Regions from separate parts of the Homo sapiens genome. Here all the other regions are linked to region 1. The links are contacts of gene promoters, found by promoter capture Hi-C in human tissues and cell types (Jung and others, 2019). All regions are on one chromosome and are shown on one strand. Each heading gives the region's core, a stretch centred on a gene start or on the middle of the fragment in contact. The rest is flanking DNA. Distances are from core to core; before and after follow the strand shown.

Evidence for each region. Contacts are between HindIII fragments. The study calls those that stand out against the background at their distance.
Region 2: a contact is called between a fragment that was not itself captured here and the fragment with the promoter of GMIP in region 1, in 1 of the 25 tissues and cell types used here (heart left ventricle).
Region 3: a fragment that was not itself captured here is called in contact with the fragment with the promoter of GMIP in region 1 in 1 of the 25 tissues and cell types used here (spleen).
Region 4: the fragment with the promoter of ZNF93 here is called in contact with the fragment with the promoter of GMIP in region 1 in 5 of the 25 tissues and cell types used here (adrenal gland, bladder, heart left ventricle and 2 more).

The regions. Positions count from the first base shown.
Region 1 is chr19:19,640,171-19,645,964 of GRCh38, forward strand. It overlaps GMIP (GEM interacting protein), which reads right to left and starts at 3,487. Exons shown (of 21, transcript NM_016573.4): 1 at 3,341-3,487; 2 at 2,365-2,449; 3 at 1,806-1,881; 4 at 1,640-1,697; 5 at 276-401; 6 at 126-190; 7 at 1-22. The coding sequence starts at 3,359. ATP13A1 (ATPase 13A1) reads right to left here. Exons shown (of 26, transcript NM_020410.3): 24 at 5,704-5,794; 25 at 5,477-5,620; 26 at 5,028-5,362. The coding sequence ends at 5,252. RefSeq lists enhancers at 2,364-3,319, 2,541-2,700 and a silencer at 3,331-3,580. The HindIII fragment of the contact is 23,421 bases long and covers 1,380-5,794 here.
Region 2 is chr19:20,069,408-20,075,201 of GRCh38, forward strand. No RefSeq gene overlaps it. Among named protein-coding and RNA genes, the nearest start is that of ZNF90, 5.7 kb to the right of the region's middle. RefSeq lists an enhancer at 1-64. The HindIII fragment of the contact is 3,905 bases long and covers 1,296-5,200 here.
Region 3 is chr19:19,949,821-19,955,614 of GRCh38, forward strand. It overlaps the pseudogene BNIP3P12. Among named protein-coding and RNA genes, the nearest start is that of ZNF93, 52 kb to the left of the region's middle. The HindIII fragment of the contact is 3,264 bases long and covers 1,076-4,339 here.
Region 4 is chr19:19,898,362-19,904,155 of GRCh38, forward strand. It overlaps ZNF93 (zinc finger protein 93), which reads left to right and starts at 2,585. Exons shown (of 4, transcript NM_031218.4): 1 at 2,585-2,730. The coding sequence starts at 2,728. RefSeq lists enhancers at 2,555-3,154, 2,689-3,238, 3,787-4,336. The HindIII fragment of the contact is 8,115 bases long and covers 1-5,794 here.

The DNA of each region.
Region 1 (5,794 bases), core at 2,237-4,736:
TGTACTGCAGAGGCATGTGGCTCTGGGGAAGACAGAGTGGTGTAGGAGGATACTGAAGATCTGTGGGGGACAAAGGTGGGGTTCTAGGGGGCTTGGGCTCTCCGGGGGGGTCTGGTCATGACTACCTGCTGTTGAATGGACACCTTGCCAGCTTCAGCGATCTTCATGGTGCTCTTAGCAAACTCCAGCTCTGGGGGAAGAGAGAGCCGGGCTCTGGGTCTAGCTGGGGTCTGGGGACTGCCTGGTAACTGGGGCTGGGCGGAAGAGGTCCTCACCATAGCTGGCTCTCTTTTCAGTCCAGGCAAGCAGTTCCTTGGCATAGCGGCTCCAGGTCTTGGCATATTCCAGGGCTGCGTCCACACCCCCCTTTGTCCGAATGAGCCGCAAGTCCAGTTCCTCCCCTGGGGAAGATGGATGGACCTCTGACCTTTGCACCCTAGTCTGCTATGGATGTCTTCCCTAAGCCCCCAGACCAGCCCAGTGGCACCTGTCCTACAGCCTCACAGCTCCCCAAACACTACTTTGGGATCACTTGTCCTGGTTGCAATTTTACAGATTCACTGTTTTTTGTTTTTTATTTTTTATTATTTTATTATTTATTTATTTATTTTTGAGACTGTGTTTCGCTCTTGTTGCCCAGGCTAGAGTGCAATGGCGCGATTTTGGCTCACCAAAACCTCTGCCTCCCGGGTTCAAGCGATTCTCCTGCCTCAGCCTCCTGAGTAGCTGGGATTACAGGCATGCGCCACCATGCCCGGCTAATTTTTTGTATTTTTAGTAGAGACGAGGTTTCTCTATGTTGGTCAGGCTGGTCTCGAACTCCCAATCTCAGGTGATCTGCCCGCCTCGGCCTCCCAAAGTGCTGGGATTACAGGCATGAGCCACCGTGCCCGGCCTGTGTTTGATGGGTTTTTTTATTTTTATTTTTGAGGCGGAGTCTCGCTCTGTCGCTCAGGCTGGAGTGCAATGGCCCTATTTTGCCTCACTGCAAGCTCCGCCTCCTGGGTTCCCGCCATTCTCCTGCCTCAGCCTCCCGAGTATCTGGGACTACAGGCACTCGCCACTGCGCCCGGCTAAATTTTTTTGTATTTTTAGTAGAGATGGGGTTTCACCATGTTAGCCAGGATGGTCTCGATCTCCTGACCTCGTGGTCCACCCGCCTCAGCCTCCAAAGTGCTGGGATTACAGGCGTGAGCCACTGCGTCCGGCCTTGTGTTTGATTTTTTTGGACATGGTCTTGCTCTGTCATCCAGGCTGGAGTGCAGTGGCACAATCGTATCTCACTGCAGCCTCAAAGTCCTGGGCTTAATCAGTCCTCCAGCCTCAGCTTCCAAAGTAGCTGGGACTACAGGCACACACCACCACACCCAGCTAATTAAAAAAATATTTTTTCTTTTGGTAGGGATGGTGTCTTACTGTTGCCCAGCATGGTCACGAATTCCTGGCTTCAAGTGATCCTCCTACCTCAGCCTCCACCCTGCCTGGGGTCTCCCTGAGGGCTGGGACTGAGATCTGTTGTGTGTACTGCCATATTCCCAAAACCTAAACGATGCCTTGCATGGAACAGGGGATCAGTGGTGATTTGTTGAAGGAAAGACTCCTGTCTGTCCCCACTGTCCTGGCCTCCAGACCCCCCTACCTGTGAGGGGTACAGGACCCTCTGGGGAGGGGCCGCTCCAACAGCTGGCTTCGTTGGTCTGTGCGGGAGGGAGACAGTATTCAGAAGCAAACAGGGCAGGGGCCTGGCCTTCCTAAGGCCCCCTCTGCTTGAGGTCTTCCTCCCTGTTCCCCTACTCCCCACTCACAACAGTGGCTGTAGGGGTCTTGTCAGGTTCTGGGTCTTCTGAGAGTAGAGGGTCTCCAGCCAGCATCTCAAGGGTCCTGGGGGATAAAGGTGTGTCAGGATGCCACCTTACACCCAGTCTGTCCTGCCAAGGGGTGCTGGGGACCTTAGGGTTGTTTGTGGCAAACATCACCTCTGTGGCATCTCTTGTGTCTGGGAGGTCTGAAGAATGGTGTTTTGGGGGAATCAGGTGAGTTTTTTTTAAATAGGACTTGAAAAAGCATCTGAAGGGCCCCAGATAACTTTGAGGTTCATAGAGTGGGATTATAGGGATCGCAAATATTTTAAGGGGTTACAAGGATATGTAGGGGTTCTAGGACCACTTTGGGGATTTCCAGTCTATTTAGGGGGACACTTTTAGGATACCGAGGCATTTTGGAGGGTCCCATCCTAGACTTCTCTGGTTATTAGGTATGTAGGTCCAGATGTTACAGGTTCCAAATGGGACTGCAAGGCACCTAAATGGTTAGGGGCTTGGGGCATCTTGGCAGGATTTGGGGGTGATCCAGGCTCAGACTCACACGTTCCCCAGTGAGATTTCGAGGTTGTCCAGGCTCCGGAAGATGTCACTGTACCTCTTCCTGCCCTCAGGACCTGGGGGGAGTCCTAGGGGAGGGGAGTGTAATACATGGGCTAACCACTGCCTCCCTCCACCCACGGCACCTCAACCAGTCTCATTTGGAGGGGGTGGAAGAGAAAGGGAAGAGTGAGAGAGAGAAAGAGAGGGCTGGGGGGGGCTTGGTTGGGGCCAACTCGAGGCAGGCAGATGGACTCACACACCACCAGAGACCAGAGACAGCTGCTCGGGGAACAGAGACACCCACTCCCTGGGTCTGCCTGCACCCAGAAGCAAACCAACAAAACAGATGCCCCAGATGCAACCAGGCTGTCCCGAGAAGAAAGCCGGTCTGACAATGGAACCACGGGCTAGACAGATGGAAATACACAAGGGACAGCCAGGCAGAGCCTGGGGCAGAAACACACATGGAGAGACTGAAGCCGTGAGGGACATAAAGACCGAATGACACTCCACATACACAACACAGACACAAAGACGGCCGGAAACACCAAGTCGGACCCCGCCACATTTCTACTGCTGCCCCCCTGCCCCCTCTCCTAAGGGGCCTAGACCAGCACTGCCGACTCCCCAGGGCTACAGAGGGGCCCTGTGGGGATCCTACCGCGTTGCCCTCTCCCTCAGCAGTCGTGGCACCCTGCCCCCATCACAAAAATCAGAAGCAGAAGCAGTCACTTCCCCTTCCTGGGCCCCCTCCCCCAGGCGTCTGGGGTGAGGGATCAAAAGGGGGAGGGGGAGTGAAGGGCTGGGGTCCTGAACCCATCCGGGCACAGGGCTCCCCACAATGGAGGATCCCTGGGTCCTTCCCATTCAGGAACTCCTCTCCTGGCTCTCAGGACGGAGCGGGACAAGTGTGTGCCCTCAATGTAGGAAGCAGGGGATGGTCGGGGGAGGCCCCTCCCGGATCCCCGACCCCCTACCCGGCTCTGCTGCGTCCATATCTGGGCCCGGGGATCGCTCTGCAGGGACCGGGATGGGGATGGGGTCGCGCGCCGGCGGGGCCGAGCCCCGATTTCCTGCCGCCGCAGCCGCCGCCGCCGCCTCGGTTCCGCGTCGCCCTGCCCAGCGGAGGCCACGCCCCCGCATCAGACCACGCCCCCGTAGCCCGGAAGCCTTGATAGTGCCCTTCTCTACCTGAGCCGCTTGAAACTGGGTCGGGCCAGGGCCCCCTGAGCGACCACTCGAGGCTGCAGTGCCCCTGACCTGGGCATCCTAAGACTTCATCTGGGCCATAGGTTCCCTCTCAGATCTTTGTGCTACCCCAAATCCCACGGAGCCCCAGCCCCCTCCTCCCTGAATGGTTGCAGAGTCCACCTGTCCCGGGGGGCCTCTCCCAGGAGCTCCCACAACCCGCGACCCTGGTGATCCCCTTGCCCAGGTTGTCTCTCGGAGCCCTGAAACCACCTGGGCCTCGCTGGAGCCATGGCGCCCCCTGGTGGAGGCCTGATATTCTGTCCGATTCCAACCAAAATTCTAATACTCGGGCTGGAGAACCCCTGGCCTGGGGGACGCCCCTTCCGTGACCCTCAAAGCTGGATCAGGCTCAAGGCCCCAATTACAGCACACCAGGGAGCAGCCCTTTTAGGTAGGGAGTGGAGGTTTGTCCAAAAGCACCAGCTCTGGGGTTGCCACAAGCCGCCTGTTATAAAAATGCTCCCACCCCCAGCACAGTGGAATTTTGGGGCTGGAAATAGACTTTAAAGTATGTTTATAACTTTGTGTCCAAAGGCTTTGGCTGTTAAGGAGGCAAGGATTCTCTGACTGGCTCCGTGCTGCCTACTCTGCAGTTCTTGAGTTGTGATGAGTGAGTCCATTGAAAGGAATAACACTATCAACCTAAGAGCCAAGCCAGGTTTCCAGGTCACATCCTGGCTGATGCTCAGCCAGAGCTCCCTGACTGTGACATGAGATGGTAGAGCAGCGCAGGCCCCCAAAGAGCATGACAGAGTCAGTACTTGTTTGTTTTTCTTTTGAGTTGGAGTCTCGCTCTGTTGCCCAGGCTGGAGTGCAGTGGCGTTATCTCGGCTCACTGCAAGCTCCACCTCCTGGGTTCACGCCATTCTCCTGCCTCAGCCTCCCGAGTAACTGGGACTACAGGCACTCGCCACCATGCCTGGCTAATTTTTTGTATTTTTAGTAGAGATGGGGTTTCACTGTGTTAGCCAGGATGGTCTCGATCTCCTGACCTTGTGATGGGCCCGCCTTGGCCTCCCAAAGTGCTGGGATTACAGGCTTGAGCCACCGGACAGAGTCAATACTTGTAATGATGCAGATCATATTCCTCAAGTCTCAGACACCACCCGAGAGAAAGGCATGCTGTTATGTATTATGGGAAAGAAAAAAATATCACACATCCTAAGGCTTCTCTCAGCACCTGAGTTGTTAAAATGTGAAAGAGACCTCAGAAATATGGGGGTGCTTGTTAAACTAGAAAATATGCACTGAATTCTCTGGGCAGGGACAAGTCCATGTTCAAGTGCTGAAAGTGCCAGAGGGTTTCACCAACATCACACGCCTGTGGGGAGGGTGCTGGGACCTTCCTCAGTGACCCTCTGTCCCCGAGCCCCCAGCAAACACCGTGTGGCACAGACGAGGTGGAGGCAGGGCTTTTTAAAATCTCAGATGCTGCTTTATTTACCAAAGGTGCTGGCTTGGGGCTGGTTCTGCTGGCCAAGCCAGCGGATGGCTGTGGGGGTCCCAGCTCAGTCTTCCAAGGGCGAGACTGTACAGCCTTGCTGTGGGGGGTTGGGGGCAGGGTTCCCTCCCGGGGCCCTGTTGGGGTTCCCGCCCAGCGGCAGCCAGGGTGGGCAGTGGGTACCAGCACTGCCATCTCAGGAAGGCACTTTCAGCTTCGGGGTCCCCAGGAAGAACTGCAGGACGCGGTCGGCCAGGAGCGCCAGGCAGAAGTCCAGGAGCAGGACCTGGGCAATGACCAGCTTGAACTGTCGGGGCAGGGAGGGATGGTGAGCTGGAGACCTGCAGCCCAGCTCAGGGTCACTGCCATAGGAGGGACCCATCAAGCTGAGCCCCAGGGTCACCTCCACAGGGCCACTGACCTCCACAGGGATGTCCACGAGGCCAAACTGGCTGTTGAAGTCGGGCGAGGAGCCGAGGAGCAGGCCAATGATGGCCAGGAGTGAAACTGCCAGACTCCACACCAGGGGCTTGTTCTCGGGCAGGCTCTCCATGAAGGGCGGGCCCTGTGGGGATGAGGGACAGATGGCTTCATGGGGTGGGGCTGGGTGGGCAGACAGTGAATGTTTGGGCAGGGCCCAGGCCTTACTTTGTAATTGATGGCGAAGGTGGCCATCTGCATGGCCATGGCCATGATGTAGACGGTGCTGTTGACCAGGCTTGGCTCAAACTCCTTGTAC
Region 2 (5,794 bases), core at 1,998-4,497, 430 kb after region 1:
TTTAATCACCAGGAAAATCAACAGGCCAAAATTTTTATTATAACTGCAAACTTGAATGCAGATGAATGGATTACAACGTGTTTCAAGCCTTGCAATGACAGGCATTATAATGGATGGTGGTATAATTTATAGCGATTAGTGGCCTAAATGTGCCACTTAAAAGATACAGAATGGTAGAATGGATAAGAATTTACCAACCAAATATCTGCTATCATCAAGAGACTCGGCCGGGCGCGGTGGCTCACGCCTGTAATCCCAGCACTTTGGGAGGCCGAGGCGGGTGGATCATGAGGTCAGGAGATCGAGACCATCCTGGCTAACAAGGTGAAACCCCGTCTCTACTAAAAATACAAAAAAAATTAGCCGGGCGCGGTGGCGGGCGCCTGTAGTCCCAGCTACTCGGGAGGCTGAGGCAGGAGAATGGCGTGAACCCGGGAAGCGGAGCTTGCAGTGAGCCGAGATTGCGCCACTGCAGTCCGCAGTCCCGCCTGGGCGACAGAGCGAGACTCCGTCTCAAAAAAAAAAAAAAAAAAAGAGACTCACCCAACACATAAAGACTCACATAAACTTAAGGCAAAGGGTTGGAAAAAGATAATCATGCAAATGTACCTTAAGAGCAAGCAGTAGTCGCCATTCTTACATCAGACAAAACAGATATTGAAACAAAAACGGTTAAAAGAAAGACAAAGAGGGACATTATATAATGATAAAGGGACAGGAAACTATCACAATTCTAAATATATGTGGACCTAACACTGGAGCTCCCAATTTATTAAACAATTACTACTAGACCTAAGAAATGAGATCAATGTCAATACAATGATAATGGGGAACTTCAATACTCTACTGACAGCACTAGACAAGTCATCAAGACAGAAAGTCAACAACAACAACAAAAAAACAATAGACTTAAGCTATAGCCTAGAACAAATGGACTTGAAAAATATTTACAGAACATTCTACCCAACAACTACAGAATATACATTTTATTCCTCAGAACATGAAACATTCTCCAAGATAGACATATGATAGGCCACAAAACAAGTCTCAATACATTTAAGACAATCAAAATTATATCAACTACTCTCTCAGACAACAATGGAATAAAAGTGAAAATCAACTTCAAATGCACCCTCACAACCATGCAAATACACGGAAATTAAATGAAAAATAAAATTTAGGATCAACCTGTTTCTGAATTTTTTTGTATGAAATCAAGATGGAAATTTAAAAATTAATTGAGCTGAATGATAATAATGACACAATCTATCAAAATGTCTGGGATACACCAAAAGTGGCGTTAAAAGGAAAGTTCATAGCATCAAGTGCCTACATCAAAAAGTCTGAAAGAGCATAAGTAGACAATCTAAAATAACACTTCAAGGAACTAGAGAAACAAGAACAAGCCAAACCCAAACCCAGCATAAGAAAAGAAATAACAAATATCAGAGCAGAACCCTAGGGGGAGGGGTGGCTGCAGTCTCTGTGGACAAGCAGACTTAGCCTTTCCTCCTGCTAGTTCTGAGCATTTCCAGCAGCTCAGATGAGTGTATTTGCCCCCAGCAAAACACTCCTCCTCCACCAAACGACAGTCAAAGTGCTTCATTAAAAGGGTTCTTCTCCCCATGCACTGGATGAGACCCCTCAACAGGGGTTGTCAGGCACCCTATACAGGAGTGATCCTACTGGCTTCAGGTTGGTGCCTCTTGAGGTCAGAGATCCCAGAGGAAGGTGCAGACACTCTTCTTTACTGCTCTGCAGCCTCCTTGAGTGACCTCTCCAGGCACTGGAGTGAACCAGATGAATAGGGCCTGAGGTGAACCCCTAGCAAGGTGCAGCAACCCTACAGAAGAGGGACCTGACCACTGAATGAAAAACAAACAAACAGAAAGCAGCAACAACAGCATCAACAAGAAAAAAATATACCCAGAAAAATCCCACCCAAGGCTGCACATGGTGGCTCACACCATAATCCAAATACTTTGGGAGGTTGAGGCGGGCAGAGCACTTGAGGTCAAGAGTTTGAGACCAGCCTGGCCAACGTGGTGAAACCTGGTCTCTACTAAAAAAAATACAAAAATTAGCCAGGCGTGGTGGTGCACGCCTGTTGTCCCAGCTACTTGGGAGTCTGAGACATGAGAATCACTTGAACCTTGGAGGCGGAAGTTGCAGGGAGCCAAGATCCTGCCACTGCACTCCAGCCTGGGTGACAGAGCAAGACTCTGTCTCAAACAAAACAAAACAAAACAAAAAAATCCAAGGGTCAGCAGCCTCAAAGATCAAAACTAGACAAACTCATGAAGATGAGAAAGAATCAACAAAAAAACATTGAGAGGCTAGAGTGCCTCTTCTCCAAATGATCAAAATGTTTCTTCAGCAAGGGTACAGAACTGGACAGAGGATGAGATGCAGGAATTGACAGAAGTAGGCTTCAGAAGATGGGTAATAAAAAAACTCTGCTGAGCCAAAGGAACATGTTCTAACCCAATATAAAGAAGCTAAGAACCTTGATAAAAGGTTAGAGGAGCCGGGCGCGGTGGCTCACGCCTGTAATCCCAGCACTCCGGGAGGCCGAGGCGGGCGGATCACGAGGTCAGGAGATGGAGACCATCCTGGCTAACAAGGTGAAACCCCGTCACTACTAAAAAATACAAAAAAAATTAGCCAGGCATGGTGGCGGGAGCCTGTAGTCCCAGCTACTCGGGAGGCAGAGGCAGGAGAATGGCGTGAACCCGGGAGGCGGAGCTTGCAGTGAGCTGAGATCACGCCACTGCACTCCAGACTGGGCGAAAGAGCAAGACTCCGTCTCAAAAAAAAAAAAAAAAAAAAAGGTTAGAGGAACTGCTAACTATAATAACAAGTTTGGAGAGGAACATAAATGATCTGATGGAGCTGAAAAACACAGCACGAGAACTTCATGAAGCATACAAAAGTATCAGTAGCCGAACTGACCAAGCAGAAGAAAGAATATCAGTATTTGAAGACCACCTTGTCAAAATAAGGCATGCAGACAAGATTAAAGAAAAAAGAATAAAAAGGAACAAAGAAAGCCTCTGACAAATATGGTGTTCTGTGAAGGAAACACATGAGGGTAGAAGAAAAGACACCTACACAATACCTTTAAGGGTAAACAAGCTTTATCCCACATAAATGGCAATGCAGATATAAGTAAATTTTTTTTTTTTTTTTGAGACGGAGTCTCACTCTGTCACCCAGGCTGGAGTGCAGTGGCGCGATCTCGGCTCACTGCAAGCTCCACCTCCCGGGTTCACGCCATTCTCCTGCCTCAACGTTCTGAGTAGCTGGGACCACAGGCACGTGCCACCATGCCCGGCTGATTTTTTGTATTTTTAGTAGAGACGGGGTTTCACCGTGGTCTCGATCTCCTGACCTCCTGATCCGACCGCGTTGGCCTCCCAAAGTGCTGGGATTACAAGCGTGAGCCACCGCGCCCGGCCAAGTAAATTGATATAAGAAAATTGCAATGGAAAGGGGAGAAGGAAAAAGATATATATATATACACACACACACACATAAATATATATATATACACACATATAAATATATATATACATACACACATAAATATATGTACATATATATACACTCACCAGACTATGGAGGATTCATCGCCACACCGGAATGCAACAACCTGGGCTCCAGAGTCAGCCACCCATCCATGCAAGGACAAGGAGAGGTCTCTTTAAGCTTTAGTGCGTTCTGGGGCTCTAGGTCATTTTGTAACAAGTTGTTTGGCATGAGGCACAGTGGAGGGCCCTTGAGACTGGGCTCAAGGAACACAAAAAGTTAACTTGTTTTTGCAATTGGCTATTGTTTTTCAATAACAATATAAAGGAATAGATTGAAATCGAGATTTCTCTGAAACAACTCTAGATGAATGCATCAAGGGGCTCGCAGAACCTATTCTCAGGCTTGGTGACCATCGTTTGTGTCCACATTCAATTCAATTCAAATTTAACTTTTTCTCCACCTTTGGCCTCAATTGGATACTCAATTGTAGGAAAATACCCTTACAGATACATAGGGAAGGCATAGTCGATATAGATTACAGATACAGGGTAAGGACAGGAGAATTAAAAGCACAATTAATAAAAACCACACCCAGCATGGCTTTCTAAGGAGAGTCATATTGTGAGAATTGCCAGGGATATACACACCACATTTAGCATGCAATATGGCACAAATCCCTCCTTGGGCTGCGGTAAGCATATCTAATGCCATTTGATTTTGCAACACAACAGTACTCAGCTGAGCAAATTTATCTGGTAACAACATAAGTCTAGTGCTAATATCATTAAGAGCTTTTTCTACATATAACCTTAATATTTTAGTTTGTTGCTGAAGCAGGATTGTACCAGTGGCAGGGGAGAATACTGTGATAGGGTACTGCCACCAGGGAGGCCAGGGAGGCTGGCACATTCATAACCAGTGATGTTTGTAAGTATCTAAATTACTTGGGAGAGGAATATTAACCCGGATGGTGAATGGAATTAATGGCTATCCCCAAGTTCATCTCCCTGTCCAGTGTGGGGACAGGTATCACCACTCATAGGATCTGCATACCCAGAGGGCTCCCCCAGGGGACAGCAATGGAGCTACTGTAATCACAGTGTACTCATGTATTATTAAAGTAGGAAAGAGATTGTGGTTCACTGGGGGCAATGTTGATTTGGAGTATGTGTTGACAATTGTCTGGAGAAACCCCAGAGTAATATTAGAGGAACCTTTTAAGGCCTCCAGACTAAGCGGGGGCTATAGGGAATCCAGGCACCAGCACAGCTGGTTTCCAAAATATACCATTCCAGGAATATTGGGCAGGATACCAAGGCTTTTGATGAAAGGAGAATGTGGAGTTCACCTTTTGTCTGACTTGGGCAAAGATAGATTGCTTAGTGTGGTCAAAGGAAGTACAGGTTGGACTACAAGTGTTGTTGTGACCCCGTTGGTAACTACATAGCCATTCAGAAATGTTGTCAGGATGATTCTCCAAGGTAGCCCATTCCTGGCGGCCTTTGGCAACTCGACGTATAGAAAACATTGTCTGTGATTGGCTTCTATTGCAGCGGTGGCTACCCAGTTCATGAATTTATTCTTGGCCTCAGACACAAAGACACAGGTGCTGACCATTAGTAGATAGATTATTCCCTGTAATAACAAAAAAGGATAGGAACATCATATTGTTTTTCATCTTTAGGAAATTGTACTATGCCTTCATTTTCTGTTTTCACAGCTACAAGGTCACCAGACTTAGGGGTGGGATCTGATGGATGCTGTACCCATATATTGGCTCCAGGATTTAAGCTACATGAACCAGTGGATCTGAATCCCCGAGTTCTGTATGTAGCCTCTGTTGGGACAGAGATTTCCTCAGGGGTTAATTGTTGACAAGGTACCACTAATAATTGAGCAACCCACATTTGTGGTTTTATAGCAAAAGAATCTGGAGTGGTATTGTATAAAACAACCTTTAACTCTCCCCAGTAATCACCATCAATTATACCACCAAACACTATAATGCCTCTCATTGCAAGGCTTGAACACATTGTAATCCATTCATCCACATTCAAATTTGCATTTATGGTGGAAATTTTGGCCTGTCGATCTTCCTGCTGATTAAATAGTCTGTCAAGAAAAGCAGAGATGCATGAGCATCATCATGGAAAACAGATCCAGGAGTGGTGGCCCAAGCCTGTACTTCTACCAATTTGGGAGGCTGAGGTGGGTTGTTCACGAGGTCAGGAGATTGAGACCACCCTGGTGAACACAGTGAAAC
Region 3 (5,794 bases), core at 1,458-3,957, 310 kb after region 1:
TGCCTACTGAACCACAGACTGTCCTCCACCAATCCTCCAGCACCCTCCTTTGTCCAACCAAACTCTGCCTGACGCCCATCCCTGAAGAAGGCCCACGAGCGGTAACTCTTTTACATATCACTTCTGCCCCTGCTACAGATGCCAAGGTCCTCGTGACAAGGAACAGCCTCACCCTACAGCATACCAAATATTAGAATCCCTCTCTTCTCTCCCCATTTCCACATGAGGAAAAGTCTTAACCCACCTATACCTTGCCCATCTGCAAGGAGAATTTGACCATCCATGGGACGCTATCAGCCACCTCATAGACCCCCTAGAAGAAGCCACCTCCCTGTATGGATCCTACCAGCTCCTCTCTCCAACAACAGATTCTGATTCTTCCTCAGATTCCTAATTCTTTTGACAGCCAGCCCCATGGCCTCTACCTCCTCAGGGTCCCTTCTCACTTCTACAAGTCTCGAATGATCTCTCAACCTCACTCACTTTTTGTTACTGTGCTCCAATTCAACATTTGCTTCCAGTTTCTGGACCTATTTTTGCCTTTCCTCTACTGCCTACTCAGCTATCCCAATTTCTTAGCCCTGAGACCATTTTCCCATTCACTTCTCTTACAACATCCAAAAGGGACCTGCCTTTGTAGACAGAGCCCTCACTCTCACTGGAAACTATCCCACTGCCCTCACTGACAGAGCTACCAAGCTCCTCTTCAATCTATATTGCCAACTATGATGACTCAAAACTCCCATACCCCACCATCCAAGGTCTCATAACTCTCCATACCACAAGACTTGGCCAAGCCCCCTTATGCATCACCTCTTCCAATGGACACGTACACGTAGGCACCCTCCTTCCCTCTGCCTGTAACTCAACCCGAACCATCTCTCACCCTTCCTCCCATATCTCACTCTGAGTGGATTATTCAGTCTCCCCTGAAGTCAACGGTCTCTTTACTCAGCCCTTCTGCATTTCCTCCCTCCCACCTCTCAAACATGGAAACCCCTTCCTTGGACAGGAGTGCTCAAAGGGGTTTCTGTCTCTTTCTCACTCTGGGTTGCTGAAGCTGAGCCAAGTCCCTCCAAGTGGGGAACCTACAAACTGCAACACCTACTCTCAATCCACCTGTCTGTTTGCATAAATACCTCAGGCATCTTCTTTCTCTGCGGGTCCACAACATACTTCTGTCTCCTTACTAACTGGACAGGCACTTGCGCCCTAGTCTGCCTTACTCCCAACATTAACATTGTCCTTTCAAACCAGGAACTCCCTGTTCCAGCTACAATACATACCCACTCAAAAAGAACAATACAGTTGATTCCCTATTCACAATAGCAAAGACATGGACAGGCCCTAAATGCCTATCAATGGATAAAGGAAACACGGTATGGTCAGACGCGGTGGCTCATGCCTGTAATCCCAGCACTCTGGGAGGCTGAGGCAGGTGGATTGCCTGAGCTTAGAAGTTTGAGACCAGCCTGGGCAACAGGGCAAAATCCTGTCTCCATGCAAAATACAAAAATAGAAATTGGCCAGGTGTGGTAAAGCACATGTGTAGTCCCCCCACACCAAGTACTTAGGAGGATGAGGTAGGAGACAATTGCTTGAGCCTGGGAGGTTGAGGCTAAAGTAAGCCAATATCATGCTATGACACTCTAGCCTGGGCCATAAGTGTGACCCTGTCTCCAAAAATAAAATAAAATAAAAGATTTAGTAAAAACAAAATATGGTACATAAACATCGTGGAATACTCTGTGGCCATTAAAAAAAGTGATCATGTCCTTTGCAAAAACATCAGTGAACCTGGAGACCACTATTCTTAGAAAACTAACGGAGAGCCTGGGCATGGTGGCTTGTGCCTGTAATCCCAGCGCTTTGGGAGGGAGGTGGGCAAATCACCTGCAGTCGGGAGTTTGAGACCAGCCTGACCAACATGGAAAAAGCCCATCACTACTAAAAATACAAAATTAGCAGGGCATGGTGGCATGCACCTCTAATCCCAGCTACTAGGGAGGCTGAGGCAGGAGAATCGCTTGAACCTGGGAGACGAAGGTTGCAGTGAGCCAAGATTGCACCATTGCACTCCAGTCTGGGCAAAAAGAGTAAAACTCCATCTCAAAAAACAAAACAAAAAACAACAAAAAAAGAGAAAACTAATACAGAAACAGAAAACCAAATGCATGTTATTATTTATAAGTAATAGCTAAATAATAAGAACACATGAACACAAAGAGAAGAACAACAGACACTGAGGCCTAGATGAGGGTGGAGGGTGGGAGGACTAAGAGGATGAGAAAACAGACCTGTTTGGTGCTACGGGTAGTACCTCAGTGACAAAATAATCTGCACACCAAACCCCCATGACATAATTTTAGCTGTAAAACAAAGACACATGTATATCCCGAACCAAAAATAAAAGCTAAAAGAAAAAATATCCCTGGATGGCAGAGTGCAATGTAGCTGAAAGGACTGATTTTCACTACAGATAGTGGCCCAGGTGGGGCTGTACTGATTTATTTCTGTGTGAATGCAGGCAGATGAGATCATGAACAGGTGGCCCAGAAGCTTAGGTTGGTGGAGAAAACAAGTTGCTGCTGCAGATTCAGTGTCTGAGGGTGGGGATATGCCAGAAGACTTGTAGACACTTGTGGGTTCTTGGCAAGAAACACTAGGATCAAAAATGCAGTGGTGAAGTTCCTGAGGGTGGTGCCTAGTCCTGGGAGGAGTGTGGACACATCAATGTCTAGTGTGTGTGTGTTTGTGAGTGGGTGGAAATCCTGTGGTGGCAGATGCAAGACAGGGGTGTCTGTTCTTAGAGGTCCTTTTCTCTAAGTTTTCAGTCTTCTGTCACCCTGGGAGAAGACCTGGAATCACAGGAAAATGGGCAGTGTGACAGCCTGTGTACAGGAGAGCAGAGCCTCCCATTTCCAGAAACCCAGAGTTTTACTCCAGGCCAGGCCTCCATAATATCTTTTTTTCTGGCACCAAATCTGTAGTTTGCTGAACATCAAACTATCCTCCAACACCAACTCATTGTCTAACATTTGAATTCTGACACCACCCAGAGTCAGCACAGACCCTGATTCAGGGCTCGGTCCCACAACACTGTCCTCACTGCAGATGCCAGCCACAAACCCCACAGGCCCATCTATGCTTCGGAGCCACTATTTAAAAACTGGGGACTCCCATCGCCTCCCTGAAGTTCAATAATTTGGTAGAGCTACTCGCAGAACTCAGGAAAACACTGTAGTTATGTTTACTGTTTTAATATATAAGATGCAGCCCAGGAAAAGCCAAGTGGAAGAAATGCATAGAACAAAGAAAAGAGATGGGGGAAGATGAAACACATAGATAATCCTGGAAAATATTTGTGATTAATAAAATTCTCCATCCTTTGTGTGCTCCAGGAACAGTTTATGGAAAGAAACACTCTTCCCATTATGACTTAGATAGTCCTCTGTTTTACCTATCACACAGCCAGACACACACTCTGCAGATTTTCTCCTTTTTCTCATTAGAAAAATCAGCTGAATTTGTCTTCAGTGATCAAAATTATTATTTTTTTTTAATGGAGTCTCGCTTTGTTGCCTAGGCTGGAGTACAGTGGCTTGATCTCGGCTCACTGCAATGGCTGCCTCCTGGGTTCAACCAATTCTCCTTCCTCAGCCTCCCGAGCATCTGGGATTACAGGTGCCCACTGTGACACCTGGCTAATTTTTGTGTTTTTAGTAGACACAAGGTTTCACCATATTGGCCAGGCTGGTCTCGAACTCCTGACCTCAGGTGATCCGCCTGCCTTGGCCTCCCAAAGTGCTGGGATTACAGGCATGAGCCACCTCACTTGGCCTAAAATAAAATATTTCTTAATCAAATTTAAGCTTATATCCCTCCCTTAGGCTCCTGAACTTTGAGCTACCCTCAGTCTGAGTCAACATACAACCCCATTTTATGTCCCTCCTAAGAGCATGCTGATTTCAGGGTAACACATTCTCTGATCTAAAATCTGACTTTTTCACCCTCCATTTGCCATTCCCCTCCCACCTACTTTCTAATCTTGTTTGCTCCTCCCTAGGAAAGAAAGCCCTTTTCAGCCTACATCTTTGCAAGCCACAAAGACCTTCCTTATAGTTAGTTGGTACTTCCTCCTGTTGCAATAATTTTTTGGAATTTTTTTTACATAAATCTAACATTTTTATTTTACACAGTCTAAAAAATGCCTCAAAACAGTAACAACTTCATCATCAGTAAGAACCTCCCAGTTTCCTTTCACCTTAATCTTAACTGCATCTGCCTGTGGGGCCCCAGCTTTCCAGGGCTCTGTAGCTTCTCTCAGAATAAAGGATCCTTCCATGGCTGGGGTGAGCAGGCTGGGACATCTGCAGTGGAGACTCCCCAGAAAAAAGTAACTGGGCCTTTAATAACCTTCTGTTGGCCGGGCTCGGTGGCTCATGCCTGTAATCACAGCACTTTGGGAGGTCGAGGTGGGCGGATCACCTAAGGTCGGGAGTTCGAGACCAGCCTGACCAACATGGACAAATCCCGTCTCTACTAAAAACACAAAATTAGCCGGGCGTGATGGTGCATGCCTGTAATTCCAGCTACTCCAGAGGTTGAAGTAGGAGAATTGCTTTAACCTGGGAGGCAGAGGCTGTGGTGAGCCAGATCACACCATTGCACTCCAGCCTGGGTGCACAGACACACACACACACACACACACACACACACACACACCAAAAACAAAAAACAAAACAAAACAAACAACCCTCTGTTGCAGGCTTAATATTAGCCTTAGCTTGGAATCACTAGGTTCAAGCTTTAATTTCCATGTCAGAGTTATTCACTTTGTTTTTGAAAGTAAGTGTTTGAAAATTCCAGTGAAATTACTCAAACACAGTGTTTATATAAGGGAAGGAAATTTTAAGATGCTTACTTTTTTTTTTTTTTTGAGATGGAGTCTTGCTCTGTTGACTGGGCTGAAGTGCAATGGCATGATCTCAGCTCACTGCAACCTAAGTTTCCTGGGTTCAAGCAATTGTTGTGCCTCAGCCTCTTAAGTAGCTGGGATTACAGGTGCTTGCCACCATATCCAGCTAATTTTTGTATTTTTAGTAGAGACTCAGTTTCACCATGTTGACCAGGCTGGTCTACAACTCCTGAACTCATGATCCACTCGCCTCAGCCTCTCAGAGTGCTGAGATTACAGGCGTGAGCCTCCGGGGATCCGACGCACAATCCCGGTTGGCTTACCCTTAAACTTTTTCCAAATAGGGTAAACTCGTGATTTTGCGAGAAAAGGAGAAGGGGAAAGAAGAAGGGATAGGGTTGATTTACAGCTTTTACAACTTATGACCAGGAAGTTGTCTTTGAAGAGGAACTTCGTTGTCCCAACAACTCCTTACCTCAAGTGATCCACCCACCTTGGCCTCCCAAAATGCTGGGATTACAGGCGTAAGCCACCTAGGCTCGCCCCATAAATTTTTAATAGGAGAAAAGAGAAACTGTCAACCCCATGGTCCAAAGCTCTTCCCATTCATGGACCCGCACCCCGAGTCAGGATTCTCCCCTGACCACCCTCCCGTGGTCCCTGCACAATCTGGGAGAGACGCCACACTGCAGGCGCAGAGCTGCCCAGACAGGGCTCCAGGCCAGGGCACAGTCGCTGCACAGGGAAGAGGCAGGACACCCAGGTGTGGGGAAAAGGAAGAGAGATCAGATCGTTACTGTGACTATGTAGAAAAAGGAAGACAAAATAAACTCCATTTTGATCTCTAGTAAGAAAAATTGTTCTGCCTTGAGATGC
Region 4 (5,794 bases), core at 1,335-3,834, 260 kb after region 1:
GGCACAAATCTCATAGGGTCTTTCAAAATGCGTCTAATCATCCCTCATGCTCTTCACTCCCCTCTCTTCTAAGCTCTTTTCTAACCAGACTGTCATATCTTCTATGCCCAGTGATAAGACTAAAATAGATATTGTAAAAGTAACTAATTTAAGGCAAACTTTAACAATTAAAACAAGATACCAAGATACAAATGCCTGGTTAAAATGGATCAAATATTCTGTGCACACATTAAGCAAAAGCAATTGTTATGCTTGTGCACGCGGCCAGCCAGAGGCCCAAATTGTCCCTTTCCCACTCAGATGGTCTTCTAGTTGACCAGGCATAAACTGTATAGTAGCTCTTTTCCAAGACCCCACAGCCTAGGGTAATAAATCCTGCTGAGCTCTCTCTCTGCTATTTCTTAAAGTCCAACACCCTGTGGGTCAGGCCCCAAGAGCCATCCAGCCTCCATCTCCTAGCGTCAATTTTACCTCGTGTCTCTCACGACAAGGGGAAAACTTGGCATTTCTTGGAGACTTAATGGGATACAGTGAGCTTAAGCCTTTCCAAGATCTTACCAGTCAGTCTTCCCTTGTTCATCTTTGAGCAAATATATGGTGGTATTGTGGTGGACCCTTACTGGACACTCTGCCAAGTAACTGGAACGGCACTTGCACTGTTGTCCAGTTGGCTATCCCTTTCACTCTGGCATTTCATCGACTAGAAAAAGAAAAACCACAACACTGTAAAATAAGAGAAGCCCCTTATGTGTCTTTTGACTTTCAAGTTTATTTAGACACAACTGGAGTCCCACGGGTGGTACCTGATGAATTCAAAGCCCAAGATCAAATAGCTGCAGGATTTAAATCAATATTTCCACGGGTAACTATTAATAAAAATGTAGATTAGATAGATAAATCACATCTATTATAATCAATATTAGTTTATTAATTACACCAGAAATGCTGTCAAAGAAATAGCCAACCAATTAAGGCCTACTAGCCAGATAACTTAGAAAAACAAAATGGCCCTGGACATAATATTAGCTGAAAAAGGTGGAGTTTGTGTTATGATTAAAACTCAAATGTTGTACCTTCATCCCAAACAATACTGCCCCCAATAGGAACATAAGAAGGGCCTTACACGAACTTACCACTTTATCCAATGAATTAGCTAAAAATTCTGGGGTCAATAACACGTTTTCAGAATGGCTAGAGAGGTGGTTCAGTAAACGAAAAAAAGTCATAGCCTCAATTCTTACTTCTCTTATAGTTGTAATAGGTGTACTAATTCTTGTTGGGTGTTGTGTCATACCATGCATCTGTGGGCTAGTACAAAGACTTATAAAAACGACACTTACGAAAACCTCCCTTAGTTCTCCTCCACCTTATTCAGATAAACTTTTCCTTTTAAAAGATCAAGTCAAACAACAAAGTAAAGGTATGTTTAAAAAGTTTTAAAAAGCGTGTGGTCGCAGTGGCTCACGCCTGTAATCCCAGCACTTTGAGAGGCTGATGCGGGCGGATCACCCGAGGTCAGAAGTTAGAGACCAGCCTGACCAATATGAAGAAGCCCCATCTATACTAAAGACACAAAATTAGCTGGTCGTGGTGGCACATGCCTGTACTCCCAGCTACTCGGGAGGCTGAGGCAGGAGAATTGCTTGAACCTGGGAGGCAAATGTTGTAGTGAGCCAAAATCGTGCCATTGCACTCCAGCCTAGGCAGCAAGAGCAAAAACTCCATCTCAAAAAAAAAGGTTTTTTTTTAATTATAAAAATTAAAAGGGGGAAATTGTAAAATACAATAAAATTCCTCTTCAAAGGTTTAGTCTTAACTTTCTTGTTCTTTGTTCTCAAACTCAACTTGCTTGTTCTCCATGCCTCCTTGCCCCTAGTTACTGTAACAACCTTCCTTCCCAACAGCTCTAATCAATAATTCACATCTGTTCCCTTGATTACTCACTCTGCAGCCTTCCCACCCTTCAAAACCACACGTCCCACCACTGTGACTTATACATGCCCCTTCCCTTCCTTATTTGGAAAAATATTTACAAATAGCCAATCGGGTCAGTTTAGATTGTGGGGTCCGACCCTAGCCCATGGGGGAGTAACACAGAGGAAGAGACTTTACGTTAAAAATAAAAACCCCTTCCCTCCTTTGTTCAGGGTGCTCTTGCGATCGTGATTAATGCAAACAAAAACCTTTTGCAGAAGTAAATTGCCTTACTAAAAAAACTTTTGCCTGAGTACTGGTTTCACTTTGCGACACCAAACACTTTACTTCCAACGGTATTATTAATATGACAACGAAATACTTCTGTTCACCTTTTCAATACATTCAAAAAGAGAGAGTAAAAAAGAGAATGTTCCCATGCTCTGGGGTGGACGTGGCTCAGCTCAGAGAGGAAGCCCTGGCTGAAAAGGCTGCAGCTTAGGCTGTTACTCTTCTTCACTCAGCCCAGCATGTGATCACATCTTCTGTCACTCAGGTCCTGAGGGGGCGGGACCTTAAGAATTATCCAATCAGGGACGCTGGGCTGGAAACGTCCAATCAGGCAAGCAGCCGGACCGAACAGGGCGGCTTCTGGTTTGGCGGGTCCTTTGTCTCTCGGTGCAGCCGGAGCTCCAGGTCTCCTCTTCACTACTCTGTGTCCTGTGCTCCTACAGGCCCAGCCTCTGTGGCCCTGTGACCTGCAGGTATTGGGAGATCCACAGCTAAGACACCAGGACCCCTGGAAGCCTAGAAATGGTGAGAGTGCCGGTCCGACATCCCAAGCGACGGGGAGGGGCTGGTTGGAACCGGTGGAAAGTGACGGTGGCGGGACTCAGGTATCCCCTTAGTCAGCTCCACAATCTGCGCCGGAGTTCTTGCCCAGCTCGGCCTCGGTTCCCTTCAGCCATAAGATGGCGGCTGCGCTTATAGCGCAGCCCCCAGGCGTCCTGTCTCTTCACTGTGCGGTGACTGTGCCCTGGCTTGGAGCCCTCGCTGGGCAGCTGCGCACCCGCAGAGCCGCTTCTCTCCCAGATTGTGCAGAGACCACGGGAGAGTCGTCAGGGGAGAATCCTGACTCGGAGTGCGGGTTCACGAATGGGAAGAGCTTTAGTGGGTTGGGTTCACAGTTTCTCTTTTCTCCTATTAAAAATTTATGGGGCTGGGCAAGGTGGCTCACTCCTGTAATCGCAGCAGTTTGGGAGGCCGAGGCGGGCGGATCACTTGAGGAGTTGTTAGGGCAGCTAAGTTCCTCTTCAGAGACTCAACTTCCTGGTCATAAGTTGTAAAAATTGTAAATCAACCCTACCCCTTCTTTTTCCCCATTCTCCTTTTCTCAAAACATCGCGCGTTTACCCTATATGGAAAAAGTTTGTGTCTAGCCCAACCAGGATCAGCTTAGATTGTGCGGTGGGACCTCAGCCAATATGGGAAGGACACAAAAACCGGAACTGCGTTAGGGTTAAATCCCCTTCCTGGCCCAGCGCGGTGGCTGATGCCTGTAATCCCAGCACTTTGTGAGGCCGTGGCGGGTGGATCACAAGGTCAGGAGTTCTAGGCCAGCCTGGCCAACATAGTGAAACCCCGTCTCTACTAAAAATACAAAAATTAGCCGGGATTGGTGGCAGGCGTCTGTAATCCCAGCTACTTGGGAGGCTGACGCACGAGAATTGCTTGAACCTGGGAGGCGAGGTGCAGTGAGCCGAGAGCTTGCCATTGTACTCCAGCCTTGGTGACAAAGTGAGACTCCGTCTTAAAAAAAAAATAGACATCTTAAAATTTCCTTCCCTTATGTAAATACTGTGTTTGAGTAATTTCACGGATTTTTCAAACACTGAGTTTCAAAAACCAAGTGAATAACTCTGACATGACAAAGCTTGAGCCTAGTGACTCCAAGCTAAGGCTAATATTAAGCCTAAAACAGAAGGTTTTTTTTTTGGACAGAGTTTTGCGTTTTGCTCTTGTTGCCCAGGTGGAGTACAGTGGCGCAATCATGGCTCACTGAAATCTCCACCTCCTGGGTTCAAGCGATTCTCCTGCCTCAGCCTCTCAAGTAGCTGGGATTACAGGCATGCACCATCATGCTTGGCTGATTTTGTGTTTTTAGTAGAGACGGGTTTTCTCCATGTTGGTCAGGCTGGTCTCGAGCTCCCGGCCTCTGGTGATCTGCCTGCCTTGGCCTCCTGAAGTGCTGGGATTACAGGCATGAGCCACAGGGCCCAGCCAACAGGAGTTTATAAAGTCCTATTTAGCTTTTTCTGGGGAGCCTCCCCTGCAGATGTCCCAGCCTATTCACCGGAGCCATGGAAGGAGGCGTTATTCTGAGAGAAGGTACAGAGCCCCAGAAAGCTGGGGCCCCACAAGCAGATGCAGTTAAGGTTAAGATGAAAGGAAACTGGGAGGATCTTTTTTTTTTTTTTTTGAGATGGAGTCTCGCTCTGTCGCCCAGGCTGGAGTGCAGTGGTGCGATCTCGACTCACTGCAAGCTCCGCCTCCCGGGTTCACGCCATTCTCCTGCCTGAGCCTCCCGAGTAGCTGGGACTACAGGCACCCACCACCACGCCCGGCTAATTAAAAAAAATTTTTTTAATAGAGACGGGGTTTCACCGTGTGAGCCAGGATGGTCTCGATCTCATGACCTCATGGTCCACCCGCCTCGGCCTCCCAAAGTGCTGGGATTACAGGCGTGAGCCACCGCGCCCGGCCTTTGGGAGGATCTTACTGACGATGAAGTTGTTATTGTTTTGAGGAACATTTTAGACTTTGTAAAATAAAAACGTTAATTTATGTAAAAGATGAATTTCAAAAAAGTATTACAACAGGAGGAAGTACCAACTAACTCTAAAATCTTTATGGCTTGCAAAAATGTAGGCAGAAAAGGGCTTTTCTCCCTAGGGAGGAGCAAACAAGATTAGAAAGGAGGTGGGAGGGGAATGGCAAATGGAGGGTGAAAAAGTCAGATTTTACATCAGAGAATGTCTTACCCTGAAATCAGCATGTTCTTAGGAGGGATGTAAAGTGGGGCTGTATGTTGACTCAGAGTGAGGGTAGCTCAAAGTTCAGGAGCCTGAGGAAGGGAGATAAACCTAAGTAAAGTTTGATTAGGAAATATTTTATTTTAGGCCTGGCCCGGTGGCTTATGCCTTTGGGAGGCCAGCACTGGGATTACCAGTGCTGGTAATCCCAGCACTTTGGGAGGCCAAGGCGGACAGGTCACGAGGTCAGGAGATCGAGACCATCCTGGCCAACGTGGTGAAACTCCATCGTTACTAAAAATACAAAAATTAACTCAGCATGTTGGCGCCCACCTGTATTCCCAGCTACTCAGGAGGCTGAGGCAGGAGAATCGCTAGAACCCGAGAAGCAGAGGTTGCAGTGAGCCAGATCAAGCCACAGCACTCCAGCTTGGCGACAGAGCAAGACTCTGAAAACAAACAAACAGAAAAAAATATTTCAGGCCAGGCGCGGTGGCTCACACCTGTAATCCGAGCACTGTGGGAGGCAGAGGCAGGCGGATCACCTGAGGTTAGGAGTTCAAGACCAGCCTGGCCAACGTGGTGGAACCCTGTGTGTACTACAAATACAAAAACTAGGCGGGCGCTTGTAATCCTAGAAACTTGGGAGGCTGAGGCAGGAGAATTGCTTGAACCCTGCAGGCAGAGGTTGCAGTGAACCGAGATTGCGCCGCTGCACTCCAGCCTGGGCAACAGAGCGAGATTCTGGCTGGAAAAAAAAAAAAAAAAAGAAATATTTTATTTTGACCACCGAAGACAAATACAGCTGATTTTTTTTTTTTTGAATGAGAAATAGGAGAAAATGTGCA